Regions from separate parts of the Homo sapiens genome. Here region 2 is linked to region 1. The links are contacts of gene promoters, found by promoter capture Hi-C in human tissues and cell types (Jung and others, 2019). All regions are on one chromosome and are shown on one strand. Each heading gives the region's core, a stretch centred on a gene start or on the middle of the fragment in contact. The rest is flanking DNA. Distances are from core to core; before and after follow the strand shown. Region 1 holds the start of ARHGAP33 (Rho GTPase activating protein 33). Region 2 has its middle 9.3 kb from the start of ZBTB32.

Evidence for each region. The method cuts DNA at HindIII sites, captures the fragments that hold promoters and counts their contacts. A contact is called where the count stands out against the background at its distance.
Region 2: a contact is called between a fragment that was not itself captured here and the fragment with the promoter of ARHGAP33 in region 1, in 8 of the 25 tissues and cell types used here (H1 embryonic stem cells, adrenal gland, bladder and 5 more).

What each region holds. Positions count from the first base shown.
Region 1 is chr19:35,774,131-35,776,830 of GRCh38, forward strand. It overlaps ARHGAP33 (Rho GTPase activating protein 33), which reads left to right and starts at 1,434. Exons shown (of 21, transcript NM_001366178.1): 1 at 1,434-1,534. The coding sequence starts at 1,529. RefSeq lists an enhancer at 926-985 and a silencer at 1,216-1,695. The HindIII fragment of the contact is 39,613 bases long and covers 1-2,700 here.
Region 2 is chr19:35,693,921-35,696,620 of GRCh38, forward strand. No RefSeq gene overlaps it. Among named protein-coding and RNA genes, the nearest start is that of ZBTB32, 9.3 kb to the right of the region's middle. The HindIII fragment of the contact is 5,192 bases long and covers 1-2,700 here.

The DNA.
Region 1 (2,700 bases), core at 184-2,683:
GCCACACCTGGCTAATTTTTGTATTTTTAGTAGAGACGGGGTTTCTCCATGCTGGCCATGCTGGTGTCGAACTCCTGACCTCAAGTGATCTGCCCGCCTCGGCCTCCCAAAGTGTTGGGATTACAGGCGTGAGCCACCACGCCTGGCCTAATATTCTATATTTTGTTTAATGTTAATTTTGTTCATTGTCTTCTCCCAGTAGCTTTTGAGCTCCAATGTGGGCAGGGTATATTTTCTCCTGGTTTGGTTGTTGATGTATGTACAAATTGATTAGAGTTTGAGTGAATGAATGAATGAATGAATGAATGAACAGACCAAGACCCTCTGAGATGAGAATTTGTTGAGGGCATGACTAAGGAGAGACCCTCCTGTGAAGGGCGTTATTACAGTGTTATCTGGGCATGCTCAGTATTAGCAGGCTCCATTGGGAATGGCTTTATGGGGGGCATAAGCATGATCTGGCATTTCCCCCTAAGCATTTTCCTAGAAAAAAAAAATCAAGGCTGGAGATTGGCCCGTAATAAGCAGTAGAAGGGGAAACAAGAAAATGTCCAGTGGGCAGGGGAGGCCAAATCGCAGAAAGCCTCGGGTTACGTCCTAGGCAAGGTATATGAGGCAACGAGAAACGTCCATGGGCGGAGCGTCCTCGGCATTATGTGAGCGGGGTCGGGATCAGGACTGAAAAGGTGAGACTTGGGACTGGGACTTTGAAAAGCTGCTTAAGGAACTGGGCACTGCTCTGAGGCCGTGGGAGAATCCAATTAAGACTATCAGGGGCTGGCTGGCGTGGTGGCTCACGCCTGTCATCCCAGCGCTTTGAAAGGAGGCTGAGGAGGGAGTATCTCTTGAGCCCCAGAGATCAAGACCATCCTGGGTAACATAGTGAGACCCCCATGTCTAAAAAAAATTAGCCAGGCGTGGTAGCGCACGCCTGTAGTCCCAGCTACATGGGAGGTATCGCTTGAGCCCAGGAGGTTGAGGCTGCAGTAAGCCACGATTGCAGGACTGCGCTCCAGCCTGGGCGACAGAGTGAGACCCTGTCTCTTAAAGAAATAAAAATAAAAAAGTCAGAAGAATGGACACTGGGAGTGGACGAAAGGTAGGGTCCATTGCTTGGTGTTGGAAGTGTCGGAAGCAAAGCATAAAGAACCTGGGGGCTTGTCTCAGGAGGGCGATGACAGCCAATGAAAAGCAGTCATGGGCGTGGCGCTGTCAAACTTCGAGGGGCGGGACCGAGGACACAGAGCCGGGGCGGAGCCCAAGGTGAAACCAATGAGAAGCCTCCGGGTGGGCGGGGCATCGGCCTAAGGCCAAGGGCGGAGCCAATGAGAAGCAGCGCCGCGTTCCCGCTGCCCCCCGCCCCCGTGGGGCGCGCGCCGGAGCCACGGGCAGCCGTTAGGGGCGGGGTCTGCAGCCGCCCGCGCGCGGCTCGCGCCCTCCCCTTTGTGTCGCCATGGCGGCGGCAGCGGCGACGAGAACGGCGAGCGAGGGGTCGAGCGCGGCCGGGGCCTGAGGAGGCTACGCGACCATGGTGGTAAGGGTCCCACGCGGCCGTCAGCCTGTCCGTCCGGATGTCAGTCTGTCCGTGCGCAGCCCCGCCCCGCGCGCCCCGCCCCCGGCCCCGCCCGATCCCGCGGCCTGTGCTTCAGCCGTGGTCCCTCCCGTCCTGCGGCCCCATCCCGGGTCCCAGCCCGTACCTCGACCCCGCCCCCTAAGCGCGCATCCCCGTCTTCCACGCCCTGGATGGGGTGACAGGGACCTAGGGCCTGGGCTGGGAGGAGGCGGGGCTAGTCCAGGAAGGGACCCGCGCCACCCAAGTGGCCCCTGCAGGGGCCTCCTGAGGCTCCTGGGTCCTTCCCCAGCTCCCATCCCAGCACCTTCCTCGGCATCCTTCTGCCAGCCCTCAGCCCTCCCCGGCGGAGCCCCCTCCTCCTCCCCACAGCCCCTTTCTCATTCCCGAGCCCCACCCCCCACCCGCTCCATCCCCAGCCTGACCCTTTTCTTCTCCTTCTCCCTCATTTTCACCCTATCCCAGTTCCTCTCAATCCCCCCCGCCCCGCATCAGTCTGAGCCTTTGCCTCGTCTCTCCAGCCACTCCTTCCTTACTCCACCCCAACAGGCCAGCACTGTACCTCCCTTGATCCTCGGGTCTGCTCCATCTCCTTGTCCTCATCCCCCTCCCCCACCATTTCCCTCTCCCACCATGCTGCTCCCGCTCATTCATCCATTCATTCCCTCACTTAGCAGACATTCACTGAGACCGCCTCTGTGCAGGCCCCACGCTCCAGGCACAGAGAGAGTCAGCTCCCATCCTGCCTTGGGGAACCTTATGGGCTGGAGGGGGACAGACCCTGAGGGTGAGACCCTGAGGGTGACTGGGGGTTGCAGGGACATGGAGCAGGGAGACGCTACAGCCCAGTGAATCTGTCTGGCAGCTGGTTAATTTATTCATCAGATTTTACCCAGTCCCTGCTGCGCGCGACTGGGCTGGCACTGGGGACCCAGAAAAGAATCAGGAACAATCATGTCTGAACACCAACTCAATGCCCAGCTCTATGCTGGGGAGCTCAGTCTGGGGCCCTCCTTCTGGGAGGCCGGTCATAGTCCAATGAGAGAGATGAACTTGTCACCACCAGTGCCATCTCAGAGTGATCAGAGCTGTGAAGGGAGAAGCTCTGGTCAAGGCATGGAACCTGGGAT
Region 2 (2,700 bases), core at 99-2,598, 80 kb before region 1:
CGCTGGAGAGCCACTGAGGAGCCAGGGCCCCTCTGCCTCACTCCAGGGCTTTGTGTTCTTCCTACTGCGCTGTGACCAGCAGGTGGCTGCTATGCTCCACATTATAGGGAGTGACCTCCACTGCCACCCTCTCCTCCTTCTCCCTCCTCCTCCTCCCTCCTCCTCCCTCCTCCTTCTCCCTCCTCCTCTTCCTTCCTCCTCCTCCTCCCTCTTCCTCTTCCTCCCTCCTCTTTTCTTTCATCCCTCTTCCTTTCTCCTCCTTCTTCCTTCTCCTTCCTTCACCCTCCTCCTCTTCCCTCCTCCTTTTTTCTCTTTCTCCTCCTCTTTCCTCCTCCGCCTTCTTCCTCCTCCTCCTCCTTCTTCCTACCCCTTCTCCTCCCCCTTCCCCTTTCTTTTAAAAGACGGGGTCTCAGCCAGGCACAGTGACTCACACCTGTAATCCCACCTGTAATCCCTCACTTTGGGAGGCCAAGACAGGAGGATCACTTGAGCCCAGGAGTTCGAGGCTGCAGTGAGCTATGGTAGCACCACTGGACTCCAGCCTGGGCAATAGGGGGAGACTTTGTCTGAGAGAGAGAGAGAGAGAAAATGAGAATCGCACCGTGTCGCCCAGGCTGGAGTACAGTGGCAGGACCATAGCTCTCCAGTGCCTTCTTGAGTCTAGCTAGGGACTTGTCACTTAACCCAACAGATCTATTTAAAACATGAAGTAGAATCATTGTTTCTCACAGAATCAGCTGCCTTCTCAGATCCTCTACAAATGGAAACAGAATCATGCAAAACAGGGAAGGTAAAGGGACAAGAAAATGGTCTTTTTGAAGAGCTGCTCCCAGCCCTGCTGGACAAAATGACCAAAATAGGATCCCTGGTATTAAAGTTCCTCTCATAAAAATCCATTCAGAAAATTGAGGACACTTTGGGAGGCTGAGATGTGAGGATTGTTTGAGGCCAGGAGCCTGGGCAACAGAACAAGGCCCTGTCTCAAAAAAAAAAAAAAGAAAAGATACATATATATATATCTGTACCCAGAGTCAAGACAAGCAATATTTGTTGTCTAAAAACAACTCTGGTTCAGGGTACATCAGTTAACTTTTTTTTTTTTTTTTTTTTGAGATGGAGTCTCGCTCTGTGTCCCAGGCTGGAGTGCAATGGTGCGATCTCAGCTCACTGCAAGCTCCACCTCCTGGGTTCACGCAATTCTCCTGCCTCAGCCTCCCAAGTAGCTGGGACTACAGGCACCCGCCACCACGCCCAGCTAATTTTTTGTGTTTTTAGTAGAGACGGGGTTTCAGCGTGTTAGCCAGGATGGTCTTGATCTCCTGACCTCGTGATCCGCCAACCTCGGCCTCCCAAAGTGTTCAGATTACAGGCATGAGCCCCCACACCCAGCCTTTTTTTTTTTGAGACAAGAGTCTTGCTCTGTTGCCCAGTCTGGAGTGCAGTGGTGCAATCTCAGCTTACTACAACCTCCACCTCCTGGGCTCAAGTGATTTTCTGCCTCAGCTTCCCAAGTAGCTGGGATTACAGGCGTGCGCCACCACACCTGGCTAATTTTTGTACTTTTTGTAGAGACAGGGTTTCACCATGATGGACAGGCTGGTCTCGAGCTCCTGGCCTCAAGTGATTCTCCCACCTCAGCCTCCCAAAGTGCTGGGATTATAGGTGTAAGCCACCACGCCCAGCCCAAGACAGATACTTTAAGAAAGTAAACTGGCCAGGACAGTGGCTCACACCTGTAATCCCAGCACTTTGGGAGGCCAAAGCAGGCAAATCACTTGAGGTCAGGAGTTTGAGAGCAGCCTGGCCAACATGGTGAAACCCGGCCTTCACTAAAAATACAAAACTTAGATAGGCGTGGTGGCAGGCACCTCTAAATCCAGCTACTTGGAAGGCCAAAACAGCATCATTTGAACCCAGGAGATGGAGGTTGTAGCGAGCCAAGATCCTGCCACTGCACTGCAGCCTGGGTGACAAAACAGGGCTCTGTCTCAAAAATAAAATAAAATAAAGAAAAAGAAAATAAAGAAGGGAACTTAGGTTAAGTGAGGTCATAAGGGTGGGGCCCTGATCCCTGATGTCCTTATAGAAAGAGACACCAGGAGTGCACACACACGGAGGGAAGGCCATATGAGGTCACAGTGAAAAGGTGGCCTTCTACAAACCAAGGACAAATGCCTCAGGACAAACCAACCCTGCTGGCACCTTGACTTTGGACTTCCAGTCTCCAGAACTGTGAGAAATAAATGTCTGTTGTTTAAGCCCCCTAGTCTGTGATATTTTGTTACACAGCCCTAGCAGACCATTACATTCAGTCTCTTCTTTGCTTCCCACTGTGTCCTTTCTACCAAGCACCATGCCTAGCACATAGTAAGTACCCCCAAAAAGATGCACAAACATCATCGCCTCCTGTGGGAAGCTGTCCCTCACCCTTCTCCACTCCTTCTCCCCTTAGCTTAAGTGCCTCTTCTCAGCTTCAGTTCCTACACTTTCCACTTGGCTCTTGAAGAATATGTTTTGAGGTCTAATTCCTCTCTAGCAGGTGAAATGTTTGAAGGCAGGGGCTGGGTCTTCCCCAGGGCTCAGCACCAATGGCATGCACCATCAGAATTTTTTGTTTTGTTTTTTTGAGATGGAGTTTCGCTCTTGTCACCCAGGCTGGAGTGCAGTGACCCAATCTCAGCTCACTACAACCTCTGCCTC